2 separate regions of the Homo sapiens genome follow, and region 1 is linked to region 2. The links are contacts of gene promoters, found by promoter capture Hi-C in human tissues and cell types (Jung and others, 2019). All regions are on one chromosome and are shown on one strand. The core of a region is centred on a gene start or on the middle of the fragment in contact, and the rest is flanking DNA. Distances in the headings are between cores, read along the strand shown. Region 1 overlaps SLC44A5 (solute carrier family 44 member 5). Region 2 holds the start of SLC44A5 (solute carrier family 44 member 5).

Evidence for each region. The method cuts DNA at HindIII sites, captures the fragments that hold promoters and counts their contacts. A contact is called where the count stands out against the background at its distance.
Region 1: a contact is called between a fragment that was not itself captured here and the fragment with the promoter of SLC44A5 in region 2, in 1 of the 25 tissues and cell types used here (hippocampus).

The regions. Positions count from the first base shown.
Region 1 is chr1:75,420,464-75,425,398 of GRCh38, forward strand. The region is part of intron 2 of SLC44A5 (solute carrier family 44 member 5); the gene reads right to left. Among named protein-coding and RNA genes, the nearest start is that of SLC44A5, 190 kb to the right of the region's middle. The HindIII fragment of the contact is 3,343 bases long and covers 1-2,941 here.
Region 2 is chr1:75,608,302-75,613,760 of GRCh38, forward strand. It overlaps SLC44A5 (solute carrier family 44 member 5), which reads right to left and starts at 2,813. Exons shown (of 24, transcript NM_001130058.2): 1 at 2,739-2,813. The HindIII fragment of the contact is 17,791 bases long and covers 1-5,459 here.

The sequences.
Region 1 (4,935 bases), core at 20-2,519, 190 kb before region 2:
TCCACTGATAATTAGATTAAAAGTAAATTGTCTAAATACTAATTAAAAGGCAGAGCTTGTAAATTTACATAAATTTTGAAAAAGCAAGAAACAACTATCTGCTGTTCATAGAAACACAAATTCTGGGACTGACTATTCAATATAAATTCCTCAATTTCTTAGGTTTTGAGTGCTTTGAGTAGAGCCTATATGTTTTCAGATTATTGTGGAATGTAAAGTTTTCTTCACTCAATAAGAGAAATACTTTTTTGTTGATACATTGACCACATTATTTTCTTAATAATTACGATAACTCAATAATTGTAGAGACTGGTTTATAAAAAAAATTTTCATATCAAAGGCCAAAATTACTTTACTTTCATCTATTACTCTCTGTCAAGTGAAAACGTTTATGTCCCACAGTTAAGAGTATCTCTCAAAATACCAAGGCCTTAGAAGTTTCTTTCCTGATACTTCCATACTTGATAATGGCTATAGAATAAATAGCCATTAGAACACAGATGTCACAAAAATGAAAATAGCAAGCATTTAGACACCTAGGAAATAATCTCTTTGGAATATAATATAACTACTGTTTCAGAGGGGGAAATAGTTGTGTCTTTCTCACAGGATTGTTTTCAAATATATTATAATATGGTCCACTTCAAATTTTGCCCTTTCAAAGCACAACAATTATTTACCATAAAATAGCTTGAAAAATGGGAACAATTTTATACATACTGTTAGTATGTATAAAAATATACCTAAAATCATGTTATATTATTTTAATTAACATAGATAGAATGTGACATCTACAGCCAATCTAGGACTAGGAACCCTGCAGGTGCTAAAAAGCCACCATTATTTTAAAGACACCCTATTTCGCCTGAAGACTGCAAACTTGAGGAGGAATAAAAGGAGTTGTTGCTTTTTCTATACAGAGAAAGATACTGACTAGTTAGAGATTTTTATGTAGGCCATAAGCCATATGTGCAAAAAAATGAATAAATGGCAGCCCAGTTAATCCTCTTATTTTATTTTTTCTTTCAACATGAAGGGATTGTCAATGACCCACTGCACTGTGGTGTGCTATGGCTCATTTTGCTGAATGCATAGAGACACTGTTTCAGAATTGTCCTCAATGGTGCCCTAATAGTCTGAGAAATTTGCTAAGGCTTTCCTCTTCTTTCATTAAGATCACCATTTTGCATACAGCTCTCAAAGAGCTAATTGCTGGCTGTTCGTTTTATATATGTCACTAGCTCATTGCTGCACTGCTAAGGGGAAAAACACATAATAGAGGAAGGAGAAACATGTAGGTGGAAAAAAGCTTTTGTTATATAATACAAACTTACAATTCATAAAAGCTTATGGAATAAGGTGAAAATTTTATTCACCAGAAATCTTTAGAAGAAATCTGTTACTTTTTTGAAAAAAAAAAAAAGTACTTTGGTGAAGTGTTTGAAGTGTGGTCCATATATCAAGAATTGTCCTGGGACTGCTATTCATGTGACAAGGAGAGGAATTTGAGGAGTGGGCTGTGATTGTATAAAATGGTCATACTTGTGACCCCTCTCAGATATTCAATAAAATTACTGAACTCAAGAAATACTTGTTAAAACCACTGGTGTGTGTGTGTGTGCACGTGTGCTTAAGAGGCTGTGCTTTTTCACCCAGACTGATGTGATGTAAAATTTGGACATGAAATGCCCTTTGAAAAAGGCACACATGGAAAAGCAAACGCCCTTTCTGGAGTGAATACTAATGAGCATTGAAGCCTCCAGGTTAGAGTCATCTAATAGTTCTTCTAAGAGATATGATTTCTATCAGGCTAGTTATGGACACATCTGGACATTTCACTAGGCTGCAAGATCATAGGAGGCCGGAAGAGACTCTTATTCATAGCCTTATCCAGTTTCCCAGAGTGCATAGCACAGTGTTTTGGACTTACAAGTCCGCAGTGAATAATTGGCAACAAATAAATGAAAACATAATTGCCTTATGATGAGCTAGTTTTGTTTCACCTCAAAATATTTGTGTAGATAAAAACTTAGAAAGTAAACTTTAGTTTATTTAGTTTAGGTAAATAATCGGTATCCTGCACCAACTGATACCATACACAACAGTAGCGATTACAGATGTTTTGACTGAGGGACATATTTATATTACCAATAGAAATGGGAATGTCAAAAATAGGGATTTGGAATGTGCAGCAAGTTTTACATGTTAAGAAGCTCCTAGAATACTTGGCAGTTGCAAAAAACCTTGATTGCATGAAGGAACCCTTATCTGTTCCGTTTGCTGTCAAGAAAACTGGCCCAGAGGGGTTATGTGAATCTTTCCAGGAGGACCAATGGTTAAATGGCCAAACTGGAACTTGGGCCTAGATTTTGACTCTAGGTCTATTGCACTTTCCACTACCCATAGCTGCTTTCTATTAGGTTGGTGCTAATAGTAGAGACTCAGACTTAACAGAAGCCAGACCTCTTCTCTTCCTGTTGTCTTTATGTGCTAATTTGAAACAAACAAACAAAAAATAAAATAGTAAAGTCTTCCATTTTCTCTGCTCTCAAAATTCCCAAGGCTTAAGCTAGTTCCATTTATTGACATTAAATCCTGATTCATCTCTCAAATGCCTTTGTTGCAAGGATTGGAAGAAAAGCATTCTCTGGGGTAGGCAGTGTTATTTTGGTTGCCTGAAAAAGAACAGAAAGCTATAGTACTCTCTACGGAATGAATACCTATAGCAATTTCTCACACATATGGCAATTTCATACATACACCGTGAAACAACGCTTAGCAACCTGCTTAGTAAGGTCAAGCTTCCTCAGCAAACAATGAAATATAAACATATCATACTGCAGTTTCCTATGGCTGGTGAAATTAGATTAGATGGTTGTCTGCTCGTTATATGAATCTTCTATCAACTCAGCTGTAGCCAACAGAAATATTGATCTAACACAGAACAAGAAAGCTGATATCTTTAAACTATTGCTTGGCCCTTGGTTATTTCCCCTAAAGTATATATTTTTATCAATGTATTTTTATTTTGACCTTAAATTCCTAACTAGAGTCTATGATTTAAGGATTTTAAGAAATGAAGCTTTCGCATCATATTTTGCTATTTTACTATCGTTCTATTAAAGATTGGAGAAGCAGAAAAGTTAAATGTTTGCTACGTTAATATGTGCCTGGCTCTATTTGCCTTGCGTCTTTTGGAAATTGCGAGCAGCTCCATACTCCCTGCTCCCAGGACGCACTTATCTGTTTACTAGCTGTCAAAGTAAATTTATAGTACTGAGTGACACCATTAGATGGCCTGGGACAGGCCTTGCTGAGCACACACAGATACACTTGCATACCCATTAAGTTGAAATTTTGCCAAGAACCTATTAACCCATCCTAATCAACTGCTGTTTTCCATTTAAAACACCATTAGTTTCCTATGGTTTGTTGCTCAGGGTATAAGCAGAAAAGACACCATCAAGTGGTTAGAAAGGGTGTTGCTTTGCTGGATGCCCCTATGCCTCCGGAGAATTTGAATTTGGCATTAGTATGTATCACTTTCTTTCCACCGCTGGAATTAATCATGCATTCCAAATATTTAGGACTACCTCACAGAACACAGGATTTTAATACAGTTCATTGCTTAAAGATTGTGGATAATTAATTTGTGCTCAGCCTGCAGAGGCTTTTGTTTCTAAAGAGGACTGTATAATATAATTGTAACCATATAGAACCGATGACTCTCAGTCTAAAGCTATACGTTAATAGATTAACAAAGATCTGCCTACACACCCCACCCCCTTGAGCTTCCTCTCCAAGTTTTTAAAGTTTTCTCTAAGGTAGTTTTGTTTGTTTGTTTGTTTGTTTTGTTTTTTGAGATGGAGTCTCGCTCTGTCACCCAGGCTGGAGTGCAGTGGCATGATCTCAGCTCACTGCAACCTCCACTTCCCAGGTTCAAGCAATTCTCCAGCCTCAGCTTCCCAAGTAGTTGGGACTACAGGCACGTGCCACTGCGCCTGGCTAATTTTTCTATTTTTAGTAGAGCCAGGTTTCACCACGTTGACCAGGCTGGTCTTGAACTCCTGACCTCAAGTGATCTGCCCGCCTCGGCCTCTCTAAAGTAGTTTTAAATACCTGATACATTATCATAACTTCTAATAATAAAGTCCCTTGTAAGAGCAAGAGTTCTAATAATAGTGAAATGACAAGTCAGCCAAAAAATGATGTCTGATTTTGTGAGGTTTGCTTTGGGATTGGACACCTAAGAAGATGAAAGATGAAATATCAAAATGTCAAGAGTTTTTTTTTCAAACAATGCATTCTCTGCAATCAAATTGCAAGGAACAGGATTTACGTTACAGTATCTCAATATAATTTCTTCTTATAAAGAACATGAAAAGTGAAGAATTTAGTGAGCCAACTGTATTCCCCAACTCATCAAATAACAAAAACATATACAAACAATTCATTTGAAAAGTTCAAGCAATTCAGAAAAAATACTAAATACATTTCCCAACAATAGGAACACTTTGGTGGTAGGAAGCATTTAAAATAATAGCACTGCTCCATTAGGTTCATTTAAAAAATAAATATTTCACCTTCTTTTTCCAGGTTGTTAAAATGTTATCTTCATTTATTGTAGCTCTTTAAGCACAAGTTGTTCAAAAGTTAACACTAAACAGGAAATTTAATGTACTAACCAGGTAGAAGGTGAAACAAGAGGTACAGCAAAAGGAGCCAAGTATTGTGCAAGTGCAGCCCCAGTGTGGGGAATAACAAAGCCATGGTCTTTGCATATTCCTACAGGTACTCAGCACTATGTTAGGCACATGTTAGGAACTTAATTAAGCATTGGGTGGTTGATTAACTGAGTGATAAAAGATTTATGAATAGTAAAGAGCTTTGTAAAATGGAACAATTAAAATCAGAGAGAAAGGCCAAAACTAATTG
Region 2 (5,459 bases), core at 1,563-4,062:
GATGAATGGATAAACAAAATGTGAGGGGTATGTGTGTGTGTGTGTGTGTGTTGTGTGTGTACACAATGGAGTATTATTCAGCCACCAGAAGAAGAAAATTTTTAAAGAGTTATTGCAAAAGATTCCTTACTAGTCTTCTAGTTTCTCATTACCCCTACATATTGGCTCGATATTCTCAACACAGTCGCCGTAGCAATTATTTTAAAATGTAAGTCAGATCATATTTTTCCTCTGTTCAAAATCTGAACTGGTGCCACATTTCCCCAGAGTAAAAACCAAAGTCTTAAAACTTTCTAAAAAGTTTAATATAATTTAGTCTTCCCTCATCTTTCTGACTTCATTTTCTATTTCTATCCCCCTTACTAATTCCACTTGGTCTTCTTTCTGTTAGTCAAACATACCAGGTATATTTTCACTGTAGGGTCTTTGCTCTGGCTTTTCCTTCCTTCTGGAAGTCTCCTCCCCTTCCACTGCTTCATGTCCTTCAATATTACCTCGTCAATTGGTCCTACCCTAACCACCCTATTAATACTTGCAGCTGGCCCACCATCATCCCATGATTAGCAATCCAAATCCCCCTTACTATGCTCATTTTTTTTTCTTTCTGTCATGGCACTTTTCAATTTTTAATATCAACAATGTATTCATGCTTATTATTCATTGTTTGTCTTCCCTATGTATAGTGTAAACCTCATGAAGAATTCATTTTGTTCCCTGATTTATCCCAAGCATGCTTAGAATAGTGCCCAGTACATAGTAAGCGATTGATTAACACTTATTGAATGAATAGAGAACTACATGAACGAATAAAATAGATTAATATCCTACTCTCAAGTAGAAGAGACGGCAACCTTCCTTTCTTAAATCCTCTTTCTCAGTCTCCTATTTATACCTCAAAGGACTAACTGGGCTGGGAGGAGGAAGGGATTCTTTGGTAAGGAGGAATAGATAAATACAGCTGGAAAGGTTTTTATTTGAATATTTTAGGGTTTCATTTCTTTGGGTTTTTTCTTTTTTAATTGGCAAGTAAAAATTTATATATTTATGGTGTGAAACCTGATGTTTTGATATATATACACATTGTGGAATGGCTAAATCAAGCTATTTAACATATTCATTACCTTACATTCTTATTTTTGATGGTGAGAATAAAAGATTGTAGATTTTAAGAAACTTTCTATCTTCTTAGTTTGGAGGACTGTGAAATCTTGTGCTGTTGGGAGATTTTAGGGCTTTTGTATTCTCTTTATCACTCTGATTTTTGGTTCGGTAGTGCTTCAATTTGGAAAGTATCTTCTAAACTAAATGAACTAGAGGAGCCAGGAATCAGTACTCAAAAAAGCAGAGGAGAAAGCAAGCTGCTACAAGAAACTCAAGGGAAACAAGAAAAGAGAACTTCAGGGTTTCAGCCCAATTCACTAAATAGGAAAGAGGGCTAAGATTCAAGATCAGTGTTGGAACTAGTAACAAATATTACATTTCATGATAGAGGTGCAAAAATAATGAACCACAGGTATATTCATGATCTAATGTTATGTAACCTATTACCCCCAAATTTTAGTGGTTTAAGACAAGAGTAAGCATTTATTATATCTTATGGTTTCTGTGATTCAGGAATCCAGAAGCAGCTTGATTGGATAGCTCTGGGTCGGGGCTATCATGAAATTCAGTCAGATGTTGGCTGAAGCTACAGTCATCTGAAGGCTTGACTTGGTTGCAGGGTCTGTTCCCAAGATAGATCACTCACATAACTAGCAAGTTGTTGCTATTAGCAGGAGGCCTCAGTTCTTCCCACACAGAGCTAAGATTCAAGACTTCTATGCAAGTCAAGAAATACACACACACACACACACACACACACACACACACACACATAGTGAAGTCTGAATATAAATTAGGAACTGAGCTCTTCTTCTCTCTCCATAGGTATATACATATACATACATATACCTATATACACATAGATATCCTGGAGAATTATTTAGAGAGAGCAATATTTCTACATCAGCTCCCTAGGCCAAGTAAGGTGACCCAATGGACTTCACTTTTCTAAAAAGTGCAGTTATACTTATGTATCTTCTCTTACTATTCATCAAAATACCGACAATATTTTGGGCTGAAATGTTAATAATATCTGTATGAACCTCTGCTTCAAAAAATAATCCAAGGGATCCTTGAGTATTTTTAAAACATGGCATCTGGTTTCCCCAAAATGAGCAACATAAGAAAGCAAAGAATACAAAAGAACAAGGCAGAAGCCATAGTGTATGTCTTTATGATGTAGTTTTCTGCTGTACAGTACTGATCACATGGTCAGCTGTGATTCATTTTGGAAGGGGAGTATGAACAGGTGTGAATACCAGTAGGTAAGGATTCCTAGAGATGTTATCAACATCTCAGCCCGAAATATTGTCGATATTTTGGTGAATATTAAGAGAAGATACATAAGTGTAACTGGACTTTTTAGAAAAGTGAAGTCCATTGGGTCACCTTACTTGGCCTAGGGAGCTGATGTAAAAATACTACTCTCTTTAAATAATCCCCCAGGATATCTATATATATACACACACACACACGGAGAGGAAGTGCTCAGTTCCTAATTTATATTCAGACTTCACTATATATATGTGTGTGTGTGTGTGTATTTCTTGAGTTGTATAGAATACGTACTTATGAATAACAAACTTGACCAATTTTCCTACAGACATAGACTTCTTGCATTTAGCAGTATCACTCACCTCTTACTCCATCATTTCTTCAATAACTCCATCAACACTGAACCTTCTAACTCTAACATGCTACGATTCACTACTGTGAAAAAAAAGCTGATGTCATAAACACATTGTGTTCCAGTATCACTAAGGGCCATACCCCATTCTTAGGTAATCCCTGAGGTCCTACTAGCCTTGCTAGCCTCAAAGGAGTCACTTGGAGTATAAAGAGGGGGAGGAGACTGAACAAAGTCCTGGAGCTATAGTATATTTTTTCATTGTTAATCCTTGGCAAAGAAGTAGGTAGTTTGGAGGTGGAAGTAGGCCATGATTACCTTTAAAATAATCTACTATTATTTGTGTCTTTCCTGAATATCATAGCACCTTCTTGTCACAAATGCTTAGGGGAAAGAAAATCATCCAATATACCCCATATCCCACTTACCAACATCTCTACAGTAAAATGAGACCCAAGAGCATGATTTCCTTAACTAGCTATCAAGCAACTACCTCCAACAAACAGCAGTTATCATTAATATGTTCATGCTATTTTCATTTGTGAGGTCTGTAATCCATCAGAACAACCTGACAGTGATTAAGTAAAATCAAAGAGACTTTGTAAACATCTGTGTGCTTTTATTGTTACAAATGCTTCATTATAAAAAGATCAGTCAAAAGCATAAAAGTACCCTGGTTTAAACTTTTTCTGTGTTTGAATGAGAATGTTTCTCTTGGAACATGCTCATATCAGGCTTCCACTTGGCAAAATCACGAATTGGCTGATGTTGTTTTAGAGGCTTTCTCATGTCCCCTTCCAAACATCACTCTTCTCCTTCTGTGGACCCCTTTCTGTTATCTAGGAGCCCCTCATGCTGCCTTCCACATTCTGCCTACTGCACAGTCATGTTCTGGACCCCTCAGAATCCCCCTCTACCATTACAATATGTTTTTCCTAAGACTTACTTGCATTGAAAGGCTTGCCAGGGAAGTGACTAATCTTATCATCTTGTACTAAATGTTAAATTAATCCTCATTCTCTCTAGAATTGTTTTCTAAGCAGGGATTCCTAGAGATGCTATCAATATCTCAGCCTGAAATTGCATAGGTATTCTGGTGAATAGCAAGAGAAAATAACGTGAGTATAACTGGACCTTTTAGAAAAGTGAAGTCTATTAGGTCACCTTAGTTGGCCTAGGGAGTTGATGTAGGAATGCTCCTCTCCCTGAAATAATCTTCCAGGAGAGGAATGTATCCCCAAATAGCAAGTGAATATCCAATGGCTTCTCATTGCACTTAAACTCTATATTCCTTTTTATGACCAAAAAGGCCTGGCTTCTCCCTAACTGTCTCTTCCTTACACATTACACCTCTTCCTTTTGTATGTGAATGTGCCAAGCTACCACCTCATTTCTACCTTAAGGCCTGAAGTGTTATGTTCCAGTTCTTGGCATGCAAATTACTCTTCATCACTTGTTTCCCGACACAAATGCCACCTTTCCAGACAATCTAAAGTAACCTCAAAATCATTTGCTCGCACATCACTTTGTTTTATTTCTCCTGGTATTAATCACTATGTGAAATTTTCTGGTTCATATTATTTGTCACCTGCTTCTTCCAGGCCTCCTCTTACTTCATTGTCTATCATGTTCATTACCGTATCCCTAGTGTTTTGCACAGAATCTGGTACATATTCAGTGCTCAATAAATATGTGCTAAATGAATAAATGAATAAATTAACCTAAACATAAGTTTTACACTTAAGTAATTGAGCAAGAAGTCTTTGTTGTACTAATATTGGAAAAGGCAGGGGTGGGGGTGGTGACGTGATTATAACCAATGTAACCAGCTTGCATTTATAAGACTTGTATTGATTATGAACTATAGCATTTTTTCGTTAAAAACATTATCAATATTGGATTGTAAAAGATTCCATTGGCCTTTCTGAAAGACTGTCCTTTTGATGAGATGTCACAAATGAATGCTAATGTCCCTTGAGAAATCCTGCCAACAGATCTTATTCTTCTATCAATGTTAAGAAACTGCATTTCTCTTTGGCCAATTTCTAGGCTTATGGATAGTCTCTCTTGCTAGGACTTCAGAAGCCAATGAGCAACTTGCCTGTCACAAGATCCGACGAATGATCTCTCCCTGCATGCGGTGTAGCTAAGCAGAGAAGCAGCTCTTGTAAGAGAATAACCAACACAGCATGGAATATTGCTAAATCTACAGTGTTTTATCCAGCAAAGTTCACCCCAGTAGCCTGCCCCTGCCAATAAAGCCTAGAAATTTTTCCTACCAGGCAGTCCCAGTTTAGTTGGTTGTAGCTTAGAAGCAGACATCTGAGAGCAGTTCAGCAAGCCTGCAGTCAGATGCTTTTGTAGAGCTCTCCTCTTAAAAGGCAAAATTGAGGCAAGTCAATAGATTACAACTTTCTGGGTTTGCTTCTGTCATCTATCAAATATCACAATTCATCCTGCTTCGCTAAAGTGAAACTCCAAGGATTTGTTTTTAAAGGTGTCCTTCTTTCTGTGAAATACTAAATGAACTTGTTTTAAAAAACAAGAACAACTCAACACAAGTTGATAGGAGCTAAGTAACATAACTTTTCCTTTAAGAAAAACATGTAGCATGAGAAAACCTTATTTTTAAAGTACTACATAAAATTTATTGAGACCACATGTCGTAAGAAAGCTTGATTATTAATCCTTCCAGAGAAACTGTTAACACTTAACTGCTATTCTTCAATTA